Linked DNA regions of Homo sapiens: all the other regions are linked to region 3. Evidence: promoter capture Hi-C in 16 types of primary human blood cells and fetal thymus (Javierre and others, 2016). All regions are on one chromosome and are shown on one strand. Each heading gives the region's core, a stretch centred on a gene start or on the middle of the fragment in contact. The rest is flanking DNA. Distances are from core to core; before and after follow the strand shown.

Region 1 (3,091 bases), core at 314-2,813, 3.0 Mb after region 3:
TTCTCGCATGCGCAGTGAGTAAACATGAGCCTCTGGTAGATAAGAGAAACCGCGATCGGAGTACGGCGCGTGCGCAGATCAGGGATCGCGATTGCGAATCCTCCGCTGAGGTGATTTGGATATCCCTAGAACGTTGAGGGCACGAGTCGGGTCCTGAGACCAGGTAAGCATCTGCGGAGAAGCCAGGTAACCCTACGGCTGCCGACGACTGTCAAAGGCTCCGGAGAGAGGACTGCGAGCCGGGACGCCTGGGTTTTTCCCGACTTGCGACCCCGAGTGGCGCAGCCAGTTTACCTGAGGCCGCGCTGGCGGTGGGGTGGGGCCGGCCGTGACACCCGAGCTCAGTTTTCTCGGGACCTGGTTTACGCTAGGTGCTGTGGGTCGGCCCTGGGGCTGTTCAGGCACTCAGGGCAGGGGAGAGGAGAGACTACCGTCCTGGAGATAACGGTTCCACGGAGGCCCAAGGCGAAACGGAAGGATCCTCATGTACAAAACTGAGCGGAATGGAGCTGTGAGCACGCATCAGGTGCTGTTTCAGGCCTGGCACGTAGTAGAGGTCAGCACTGCCCTTGCTAGGCTTTTGCGGAGATACTCGTTTTTTTTTTAATAGACGTGGGGTGGGGGGGTCTCACTGTGTTGCCCAAGCTGATCTCGAACTCCTGGCCTCAAGCGATCCTCCTTCCTCGGCCTCCCAAAGTGCTGGGATCACAGGCGCAAGCCACCCAGCCCTACTTTTGAAGGACCAAAGGGAACTCGCTCTCCTCCCCGTGGGACCCCAGCCCATTTCATGCGCACTGTGCAGGCCACATTCTTCAGCATAGTTAACCTTTAAGGTCTTTCCAGCTACTCGATTTACCTCCAGGAGTTCTGGCTCACAGTAAAGGGACTTCCCTGGCACTATCACTTAGGCCTCCACAACCCAGGAAATGGATCTGCCCTTGGAATAACAGATCTGCCAGGAGGCGTTACATCTCATTGGAGCTTCCTAAGTATACCTACCAATTTTTTTTTACTTTTTTTATTTTTGTGGGGGAGGGGGGTAGGGGGGACAAGGTCTCTCTCTGTCACCCAGGCTGGAGGGCAGTGGCGCGATCTCGGCTCACTTTAACCTCTGCCTCCCGGGTTCAAGTGATTCTTCTGCTTCAGCCTCCCGAGTAGCCGGGAATACCGGTGCCCGCCACCACATCCGGCTAATTTTTTGTATTTTTAGTAGAGACGGGGTTTTGCCATATTGGCCAGGCTGGTCTCGAATTCCTGACCTCAGGTCATCCTCCTGCCTCGGCCACCCAAAGTGCTGGGATTACAGGCATGAGCCACCACGCCTGGCAATTTTCAAAGGGTAAATTTGATGTTATCCTATCTTTCATGATTTTTTAAATTATATTACATAATTCCAAAAGATATTTTATGTTTAAACCAGGACTTACTTCATTGAAGATGGTTTTATCTTTCAGTGTGAACCTGCTGGGAAGTCAGGCTATATTTTTGGCATCACAGTGATCTCCTTAGTACCTGATTTCACAGACCAGAATTATGATCCCACCAAATAACATGTTTTCAGTAATGTCATGGCTTATCAAGTACTTCTTAAATTGGACCATACCAAGTAAAATAATTTACAAGCCACTGTTGTAGATGCCTTTTCACCCTAAGCTCTAAAACAAAGGCCGATGAAATAATCAGTTCCCAGACTGGGTTTGTGTCATAAGACAACAGTGTATGTGGTGTGTCATTCCAAAGTTCCTCAGCCTTGTAGTTGAGAGATCTGACATGCTCCCATTTAGTGACCACTAAGTACTTTACATTTATGGCAACATGTATGATTTTGTTCGCACTCTAGGTAGTAGTATCTCCATTCTACAGATGAGGAATTAGAGCCAAAGTTACCCAGTAAGTAAATTGTGGCATTGAGACATTGAACGCAGGTCTGTTGGCCACAGAGCTCGCAATCCTTGGCAGGAAGGCCTTTTTGGGACAAAAGAAAAAATGAGAGGAGTCGTCAAATACAGAAAGTCAGGCTGGTCCAAACGTAGTGAGTTTTGTGTGTGTGTGTGTGACAGAGCTCAGCTCACTGCAAGCTCCGCCCCCCAGGTTCACGCCATTCTCCTGCCTTAGCCTCCCTAGTAGCTGAGACTACAGGTGCCTGCCACCAGGCCCAGCTAATTTTTTTTTTTTTTGTATTTTTAGTAGAGATGGGGTTTCACCGTGTTAGCCAGGTTGGTCTCGATCTCCTGACCTCATGATCCACCTGCCTCGGCCTCCCACGGTGCTGGGATTACAGGCGTGAGCCACCGCGCTCGGCCTGGTAGTGAGTTATCTTAATTAATTGTTCACAGTCACAGATCAAACTTCTTGTTCTACTCTTTCCCCCTTCTCTACTGTACTTGACTAGTCTTTTTAAAAAGAGAAAGTTGGCCGGGCGTGGTGGCTCATGCCTGTACTCCCAGCACTTCGGGAGGCCGAGGCAAGCGGATCGCTTGAGGTCAGGAGTTCGAGACCAGCCTGGCCAACATGGTGAAACCCCATCTGGGCTAAGAATACAAAAATTAGCTGGGCGTGGTGGCTGGTGCCTATAATCCCAGCTACTTGGGAGGCTGAAGCAGGAGAATCGCTGGAACCCGGGAGGCAAAGGTTGTAGTGAGCCAAGATGGTGCCACTGCACTCCAGCCTGGGCAACAGAGTGAGACTCGTCTCAAAAAAATAAATAAATAAAAACTTAAAACAGAAAAAGTTAAGGAAAAGGAGCTAACATTGCCTAAGAAACTGGAAAAAGATCTGGAGATATGAAAGGTAATGAAACAAGGTGTAGAAAGGATAATTTAGTTTCAAAAATTGAAAACCTAATGGTTTCCAAGATAGGTCTTACTGAGATAATCAGGAAGTGTGCATCTCTTATTTTCTTTATTTGTATTAAATACAATAATGTATTTGAAAGTGCTTTGCAGCTGCACGTGGTGGCTCACGCCTGTAATCCCATCACTTTGGGAGGCTGAGGCAGGAGGATTGCTTGAGCCCATGAGTTCGAGACCTGCCTGGGCAACATGGCAAGACCCCATCTCTACAAAAAATTAAAAACTAGCCAGGTATGGTG
Region 2 (2,996 bases), core at 473-2,972, 3.5 Mb after region 3:
AAAAGGGAAAAAAAACCCAAAATTTATAAAAGAAACCACACAATAGAAAAAAAAAGTTAATATGTCTGGGCACGGTGGTTCACGTCTGTAATCCCAGCACTTTCGGAGGCCAAGGCGGGCAGATCACAAGGCCAAGAGTTCGAGACCATCCTGGCCAACATGGTGAAACCCTGTCTCTACTAAAAATACAAAAATTAGCTGGGCATGGCGGGGTGTGCCTGTAGTCCTAGCTACTCTCAGAAGGCTGAGGCAGGAGAATCACTTGAACCCAGGAGGCAGAGGTTGCAGTGAGCTGAGATCGCGCCACTGCACTCCAGCCTGGCAACAGAGCGAGACTCCGTCTCAAAAAAAAGTTAATATATGTAAGCTGGTGATGGTGGTGTATGTATGTGAAATCCATGTTTGTATTATTGCCACAGAAATTTACCTCTTTATAAATAAAGATTCTACTATTTGTAGAAACATCATGCCCATTTAGAGTTAAGTACTATTTGATATTGAAGGAAGAAAATGAAAGCTGAGAAGTAGTATCCTGTGACAGCTTTAGACACAGAACTTCCTTTCCAACAAGTTCCATAGAACTAGATTGTGTCTGAATCATTAGTAACTTGGAAGTGGTTACTTTTAGTTCGACCTCCAGAAATGAATGAGAAGGTGACAAACAGAAGTGAAATGAGAATTTTTACCTTTTTTCTGGTTCTTTTAAAAAAAAAGTCCCCAAAAAATGAACAAGAACTGAGTCAGACACTGAGTAGACACTTACCAGGTTGAGCAGTTTCATGTCAAGTTGTATCTTAACTGTTTCTTGAGAGTGCCCAGTACAAATCCTGGATGGAATAAAGATAAATTTCGTGTCTTAAATGGCTTTCAACATGAATGATATACTGTAAATTGTTGAAGTATGAAAGTGATAGATGACCATTGTGAGAAATGTGGAAAACATAAGAATAGTAACATACCTTGCATGATCCCAACGCCTAGAAATTAACTTTAACTTTTTGGCTAATACTGGACAATCAGCATTTCTCTAATAATGTTTAAAAATGTCCATATATATGTATTTTTATATAATTTGAACCACACTGAAAACATCCTAATCTGCTTTACACAGAAATCATGACTAACTTCCTAATTTTATTAAATATTCTTTTACAACTTTTTAAAATTGTTTTAAACTTTATATTATAAGTAGAGGGAAGAGTACAGTGTACCCCCATGTACCCATAAATGTAAACTTAGTTTTTTCTCACTTCCCAGACTAGATCATTTTGAAGCAAATCCAAGATATATAATTTAACTTTTCAACAAGTACCTCTAAAAGATGAATTTTTTTTCTTTTTTTTTTTTGAGATGGAGTCTCAATTCTGTCGCCCAGGATGGAGTGCAGTGGCGCGATCTCAGCTCATTGCAACCTCTGCCTCCCAGGTTCAAGTGATTCTCATGCCTCAGCCTCCTGAGCAGCTGAGATCACAGGCGCGCGCCACCACGCCTGGCTAATTTTTGTATTTTTAGTAGAGACGGGGTTTCACCATGTTGGCCAGGCTGGTCTCCAACTCCTGACCTCAAGTCATCCCCCCACCTTGGCCCCCCAGAGTGCTGGGATTACAAGCATGAGCCACCAGGCCTGGCCTAGAAGATAAAAAATTATTACCAACATTGTACCTGAAAATTTAAATAACATTTCTTAATATAATCAAATACCTGGTCATTTTTACACAACTTTATTGAGGTGTATGGTAGAGTTTACCCATGATTTTTAGAAAGTTTATGGAGGCCGGGTGCAGTGGCTCACACCTGTAATCCCGGCACTTTGGGAGGCTGAGGCAGCCACATCACTTGAGCCCACCAGTTTGAGACCAGCCTGAACAACATGGCGAAACCCCATCTCTACCCAAAATACAAAAATTAGCCGGGTGTGGTGGCACGTGCCTTTAATCCCAGCTACTCAGGAGGCTGAGGCAGGAGGATCGCTTGAACCTGGGAGGCAGAGGTTGCAGTGAGCTGAGATTGCGCCACTGGACTTCAGCCTAGGCGACAGTGAGATCCTGTCTCAAAAAAAAAAAAAAAGAGTTTATAGAGTCATGCATCCATTGCCACAATTGTTTTAGAACATTCCATCACCCCAGAAGATTCTTAATGCTCATTTACAGTTAATCCTTATTCCTACCCCCACCCCCCCAGCACCCACTAATCTGCTTGCTGCCTCTAGGGTTGTCTGGACATTCCATGTAAGTGGAATCGCACAGTATGTGGCTTCTTGTGTCTGGCTGCTTTCACTTAGTATGAAAGTCATCCAGGGTGGGCGTGGTGGCTCACGCCTGTAATCCTAGCATTTTGGGAGGCCGAGGTGGGCGAATCATCTGAGGTCAGGAGTTTGAGACCAGCCTGGCCAACATGGTGAAACCCCATCTCTACTAAAAATACAAAAATTAGCCGGGGGTGGTGGCACTTGGCTGTAATCCCAGCTACTCGGGAGGCTGAGGCAGGAGAATCGCTTGAACCTGGAAGGCGAAGGTTGCAGTGAGCCAAGATACTGCCAGTACGTTCCAGCCTGGGCAACAGAGCGAAACTCTGTCTCAAAAAAAAAAAAAAAAAAAAAAGAGAAAGTCATCCCTGTTGTTGCATGGGTCAGTAGTTCATTCCTTTTTATTGCTAAGTAGCATTCCATTGTGTGGATATAGACTGTAATTTCTTTTCTTTTCTTTCTTTCTTTTTTTTTTTTTTTTGAGACAGGCTCTTGCTTTGTCACCCAGGCTAGAGTGCAGTGGTGTGATCACTGCTCACTGCAATCTCGATCTCCTGGGCTCAAGCAATCCTCCTGCCACAGCCTTCTGAGCAACTGGGACCACAGGCGTGCACCACCAGGCCTGGCTAATTTTTTATTTTTTGGAGAGATGGTGTCTTACCATGTTGCCCAGGCTGGCCTCAAACTACTGGCCTCAGGTAGTCCTCCCACCTCAGCCTCCCAAATTGCTGGGATTATCAACACGAGCTGC
Region 3 (3,018 bases), core at 11-2,510:
GTTAAGCAAATATAGCAACATTATTATTTGTAAAAACAATCTAGGCGTGTTTATCCGGATTGTTACACAATTCCTTTGGGTTTTGTGTCTGAAAACCTTCTAAGTGTGGGAAAATGTAATACAAGCTATGCTCTACAATGCTGCCTAATTGCTTAAGCGCAGTACAGTCAGCATTTCTGGGCAAGGGAGACCCACCTCAAAGGCCATCCAAAAGTCATTGGACACTTAAGTTTCTTGGCTGACAGGTCCTAAATATGCAACAGCTTGCTTCCTTACAATGAGTCATTCCTGACCTCAGACCTTCTCAAAAATGGAGTAAAACTGTAATGTGCGGCCGGGCGCGGTGGCTCACACCTGTAATCCTAGCACTTAGGGAGGCCGAGGAAGGTGGATCATGAAGTCAAGAGATCGAGACCATCCTGGCCAACATGGTGAATCCCTGTCTCTATTGAAAATACAAAAATTAGCTGGGTGTGGTGTCGCGCCCCTGTAATCCCAGCTACTCGGGAGGCTGAAGCAGGAGAATCGCTTGAACCTGGGAAGCGGAGGTTGCAGTAAGCCAAGATCAAGCCACTGCACTCCAGCCTGGACAACAGAGCGAGACTCCGTTTAAAAAAAAAAAAGTATAAAGCGCGCTCTTTTAGAAGCCAGACAGACCTGGATACGAATGCTGTCATCTTAGGACCCACTTAACTTGCCTGAGCCCGTTTATCTGCAACAGAAGGGACCTATCTCAGGAAATTGTTAACTAAACAGTATTTTCCCAAAAATGGCCTAATTCAGTAGCCGGTGTGAGTAGACCCTCAGCACATAGCAGCTGACTGTCCCTATTTGCGCTGGGGCAACATGAAGAGCAGAGGCGACCCACCCTGCACTTACGATGATCTTAAGGAAGTAGTTGGACTTCCAGGTCGCCCTGTCTTCCCTGGGCATCACGGCGGTGCGTCAGGGATTGCCACGCAGGGTTTAAAGACGATGTCACTGAGGAGAGACAGGGAGCTCAGGCCTGGTCACGCCGACACCCATCCCGCGGTCCCGGGCCTAAGAGGAGCAGGACACGCGCAATCGCCCGCCGGCCCTGCCTAGGGCAGCGGCCGTCATCTCGGGGCGTGCAAGCCGCCACCGAGGCCCCAGGCGGAACAGAATAGGACTCCATGTTCCCAAAGGCCCCCAAAGACCCCTCCATGCTTCCCGCCGGCGACCCCTGGCGCCCATCTAACTAGCACACGAACCTTCCACGAGGACGCCTGGCGAGAGAAGGGCCTCGCGCCCGCGCGTGCCTTTTATAATGCGAACAAAGTAGCCAATCAGAAACCGCGGATAGCGCTCCTGTCTATTGGCTGCGCCATCGCCCGTCAGACAAAGCTGAACGAATACAGGCAACCATTGGATAATATCGCTGCCACTCCAGCCAACGGAAAGCCGCCTTTAAGTAGGGTCGCGAAGGAAGGCGCTGCCTCGCGTTGGAGGAGCTTGCTCTGAGCTGCTGCCACCTGCTGGGCTGGAGCTGGAGCTGGAGCTGCGAATTCGGAGTCCCGGTTCCCTGTGCCACCTGGCGAGCTCAGCAAACTAAAAGGTATGACGTGGAGCTGAGACATAATTGCACATGCTTAGAAACAGAATGGTTTCTCTTTTTTTTTTTTTTTTTGAGACGGAGTGTCGCTCTGTCGCCCAGGCTGGAGCGCAGTGGCGCCATCTCGGCTGACTGCAAGCTCCGCCTCCCGGGTTCACGCCATTCTCCTGCCTCAGCCTCCGGAGTAGCTGGGACTACAGGCGCCCGCCACCGTGCTCGGCTAATTTTTTTTTTGTATTTTTAGTAGAGACGGGGTTTCATCATGTTCTCCAGGATGGTCTCGATCTCCTGACCTCGTGATCTGCCCGCCTCGGCCTCCCAAAGTGCTGGGATTACAGGCGTGACCCGCCGCGCCCGGCCTCAGAATGGTCTCTCGTCTTCTCTAGTTTTTCCGCCTACCAAAACAGAGGGATCCTTTAAAACCTGGCCGGGCGCGGTGGCTCACGCCTATACTCCCAGCACTTCGGGAGGACGAGGCGGGTGGATCACCTGAGGTCAGGAGTTCGAGACTAGCCTGGCCAACATGGCAAAACCCCGTCTCTACTAAAAATACAAAAATTAGCCAGGTGGGGTGGCGCATGCCCGTAATCCCAGCTACTCAGGAGGCCGAGGCAGAAGAATCGCTTGAACCCGGGAGCTGTGAGCTCTGCAGTGAGCTAAGATCACACCATTGCACTCTAGCCTGGGTGACAGAGAGGGACTCCATCTCAAAAAAAAAAAAAAAAAAAAAAAAACCTAAGTCAGCTCATCTCCTTATCTGCTTAAAACTTTCCGTTTCCTACAGAGTAAAAATCTAAAACCTAAAGTACCTACAAGGCCCTTACCTATCTGTCCCTCACGCCCACTCTGATCATCTCAGATGTTTTCCTCCTCACTTACTTGCTTTCTACCCAGATGATGCTCTGCTGCTTTTCCAGAGCAGGCTTTACTTGGGGGCTTTTGCATTAGCCATTCCCTCTTCCTAGAAAACTAGCCAACAAACATCCATAGAATAATTCACCTCCATCAAATCTTTTTTTTTTTTTTTTTTTTTTTTTTTTTTTTTTGAGAAGCAGTCTCACTCCGTTGCCCAGGCTAGAGTGTAGTGGAGCAATCTCAGTTCATTGCAGACTTGACCTCCCAGGCTGAAGTGATCCTCCCACCTCAGCCTCCCAAGTAGCTAGGACTACAGGCACACACCACCACGCCAAGCTAATTTTTTGTACTTTTTGTATAGATGGGGTCTTGCCATGTTGCCTAGGCTGATGTCAAACTTCTGGGCTCAAGCAATCCTCCCACCCTGGCCTCCTAAATTGCTGGGATTACAAGAATGAGACACCTTGCCCAACCCTGAGATCTCTTTTTTTTTTTTTTTTTCACTGAAACCTATGGAATTATGTATTAAATGATCCCCAAAGAATCAGCTATTTCAAAATTAAAAATTATTACAAAGAGCTTCATACATC
Region 4 (3,078 bases), core at 512-3,011, 4.7 Mb after region 3:
GTCTTTGTTCATTCCTAGGTGTAGGCTGAACTGACTTTGGAGGAGCTTAGTTTATAGTTTAATTCTGAAACAAAGGTGATAGCCTTTTCCTAAAACAAGCCCCCTTCCTGCCTGCGCACTAGACTGCTTTGCAGGACTAACAAATTGGCCACAAGATTACAAATTATGGTTTAGGAGTCACGCAGCTGGAGACTGCAAGATTCTGTCCATGCTGAAATTGCTCCTGAGGATAACATCACTATTGTAAAACCTAAGACCAGTGCTTGAGATATTTTGCATACTCTGCACTCAGTGGGCCGACTGACACCACCCAGATTGATAAACTGGCTCATCTGGTCTTGTGGCCCCCACCTAGGAACTGACTCAGGGCAAAGGGACAGCTTCGACTCCCTGTGATTTCATCTCCGACCCAACCAATCAGTACTCCCGATTTCCCGACCTCCCTACACACCAAATTATCCTTCAAAACTCCAATCCCTGAGTTTTCAGGGAGACTGATTTGAGTAATAGTAAAACTCCCGTCTCCCACACTGCCAGCTGTGTGTGAATTAAACGTTCTCTATTATGGCAGGGCGAGGTGGCTTGCGCCTGTAATCCCAGCACTTCGGGAGGCTGAGGTGGGCGGATCACAGTTTCCCTGTCCTAATAAATGGGCTCTGTCTAGGCAGCGGGCAAGGAGAAACTGTTGGGCAGTTACAGAAGCATGTAAGTTTTGTGTTAGGCCTGATGACTTCAGAAATTATCTTCAATGATTTTCCCCTAAAACCTTGTTGACATTTAGGGAGAAATAACCTTTCCTGAAGCTCATTAGAAACAAGCTGTCACCAATGCGTCACCACCTAACTGGTGAGTCAGTTCGCAAGTTTCATTTTCTTCATCTCAAAAATGAAAGCTCTAGATCTAGGATTAGACGCTTTTACCATTTAAAACATGAAGTCAAGTCAAATGAAAGAAAGGGGCTGACAGGTGAGGAATTCATTATAATTGCAAAGAACTGTACCACAGAATGCAGCCGAATCCCTTCTTTCATTCTTATTATTATTTAGAGAGCTGGGAACTGGTTAAACTTTAAAAAATATAATTTATTTTTATGTATTTATTTTTGCCTAAAGATCATTCATGCAAGTAAATCAATCTCCCCTCCCCTCCCCTTCCCCTTTCCCTCCCCTTCCCCTTCCTTTCCTTTCCTTTCCTTTCCGAGCCAAGGTCTCCCTTTGTTGCCCAGGCTGCTTTCAAACTCCTGGCCTCAAGCAATTCTCCTGCCTCATGCCTCCCAAAGTGCTGGGATTACAGGCCTGAGCCACCATCTTTTGCTTTCAGTGATAAAACACAGAAACACAGTGGAGGTGAAAGCAACTCCATCTTGGTTGCTAATCCACCAAGATAACTTCCGATTAATGCCTCTTCCAGGAAGGTCTCTAAGATTTCTACTTTACTGTTACCATAAATTCTGCCCTTAGATCAGAACAACCTAGATCATAAATCCTTCCCTTATGCGGATTCACATAACATTCTTGCCTTGCTTGAGGGGTCAACTTCAATTGTCCTACATATATTCCTTCCCTATGGTATGGAAGCCCTGGGCCGGGGGTTATGGCGCAGCAAACCTTATATCCTCTGATGACCACCCTGAGACTATGGCTTCTGTTGGTAAGTCCCTAATAAATGTTTTTTCCTGAGAAACTGGGTTTGTCAACCCCTTTCTTTGGCCTCTCAGCTCCCTTGGCCTTTGGGGTAGGTTTGCATAGGCCTGCTCACCCCGGAACACAGTGTATGAATATAAATGTAAATTGCACTTGCATTACAGCCGTGGAGACGTGTTGCTGAGGAAGCAGAGAGCAAAGCCCCGCTGGGATGTGAGTTTGCTTCTGGGTTCCTCCCATGCAAATGAGGTGGTTCGTGGCAGTGCAGAGGAGGAGTGAGATGGCAAACAGGGGGGCCCAGACCTTCCAGCAACTTACACACTTGCCCTCTGATGGCCAAGAATGCGTCAACAGCCCTCGAGGCCAGTGCAGTACAATCATGGTGGCACGAGATGTGGTGTACACTCCCCAAATGATCATCCTGCTCACTTTTGCTGTGGTTTCAGTCATCAAGTCAGGTTTTGCCTTAACACTTTTCTGCTGATTACTCCCATCAGCCTCTTCTAACTCATGTGCATTTGAAACATTAGAGATTTCAGAATGGGAAGATCACACCTGGTGTGAGAATCTGAGCTCCAAGTAGTGCCTGGAATCACAATGCTTATGATAATCACATCCATGGCACTTTAATGATAAAGAACCACGGACCAAAACGAATACAGAAAGCAACAAAACTACAATGGAGATGCCGGGGATCGAACCCGGGGCCTCATACATGCAAAGCATGCGCTCTACCACTGAGCTACATCCCCCTCCCTTTCCTGTACTTGCTTTTGGAAGTCCTTGCTATACTCTATTCTTAAAGGCGTTTTTCCTGTTTCCACGTGTTTCATTTTTATTTTTGGTTTTTATTATTGTTTGGACGCATAACAATTGTGCACATTTATGAGGTGTGGTGTGATGTTGTGATCTATGTACACAATTTGTAATGTTCAAATCAGGGCAATGACCACATCCATCCCTTCAAACATGTATCATTTCTCTGTGCTGGGAGACATTAAAAATCCACGCTTCCAGCTATTTGAAAACGTACAATAAGTTGTTGTATTCACTCTATAGGGACACTGGAACTTATTCCTCCTATTCAGCTGTACTTTTGTATCCAGTAACCCCCCTTTGGCTATCCCACCTCCCCCCACCTTCACTACCTGCAGTAACCACTATTCTCTCTGTGAGACCAACTATTTCAGCTTCCGCACGTGAGTGAGATCATGCAGTATTTATCTTTCTGTGCCCGGTTTATTTCACTTTATGTAATGTCGCCCAAACTTAGCCATGTTTTTATTTTTGTTTCGTAGAGGAAAAATGACAGGATTTCATTTTGTTTTGTATTTTTTTAAGGTCGAATAGTATTCTATTGCGTATGTACACATTTTCTCTATCCATGTATCTGTTGACGGACACATCTAGGCACTTATGAATAAAGCTGCAATAC

Evidence for each region. The method cuts DNA at HindIII sites, captures the fragments that hold promoters and counts their contacts. A CHiCAGO score of 5 or more calls a contact.
Region 1: a contact is called between a fragment that was not itself captured here and the fragment with the promoter of RPLP0 in region 3, in 2 of 17 cell types (naive CD8 T cells and non-activated CD4 T cells). The highest score is 7.2, in naive CD8 T cells.
Region 2: a contact is called between a fragment that was not itself captured here and the fragment with the promoter of RPLP0 in region 3, in 1 of 17 cell types (total B cells). The highest score is 5.5, in total B cells.
Region 4: a fragment that was not itself captured here is called in contact with the fragment with the promoter of RPLP0 in region 3 in 1 of 17 cell types (M0 macrophages); the score reaches 7.3 in M0 macrophages.

What each region holds. Positions count from the first base shown.
Region 1 is chr12:123,233,369-123,236,459 of GRCh38, forward strand. It overlaps MTRFR (mitochondrial translation release factor in rescue), which reads left to right and starts at 68. Exons shown (of 3, transcript NM_152269.5): 1 at 68-163. It also overlaps a transcript of MPHOSPH9 not described here. The HindIII fragment of the contact is 3,144 bases long and covers 1-3,091 here.
Region 2 is chr12:123,714,737-123,717,732 of GRCh38, forward strand. All of the region lies in intron 1 of ATP6V0A2 (ATPase H+ transporting V0 subunit a2), which reads left to right. It overlaps LOC105370042 (a long non-coding RNA gene), which reads right to left. Exons shown (of 3, transcript XR_945477.4): 2 at 764-827. Among named protein-coding and RNA genes, the nearest start is that of ATP6V0A2, 3.9 kb to the left of the region's middle. The HindIII fragment of the contact is 5,850 bases long and covers 1-2,996 here.
Region 3 is chr12:120,199,851-120,202,868 of GRCh38, forward strand. RPLP0 (ribosomal protein lateral stalk subunit P0) reads right to left here and starts at 1,261. Exons shown (of 8, transcript NM_001002.4): 1 at 1,233-1,261; 2 at 880-981. The coding sequence starts at 933. PXN-AS1 (PXN antisense RNA 1) reads left to right here and starts at 1,441. Exons shown (of 4, transcript NR_038924.1): 1 at 1,441-1,576. RefSeq lists enhancers at 947-1,016, 1,417-1,776. The HindIII fragment of the contact is 6,201 bases long and covers 1-3,018 here.
Region 4 is chr12:124,919,432-124,922,509 of GRCh38, forward strand. TRA-TGC3-2 (tRNA-Ala (anticodon TGC) 3-2) reads right to left here and starts at 2,395; the gene lies at 2,324-2,395. RefSeq lists enhancers at 1,601-1,790, 1,626-2,304, 1,871-2,190 and a cis regulatory region at 1,846-2,016. The HindIII fragment of the contact is 6,001 bases long and covers 1-3,078 here.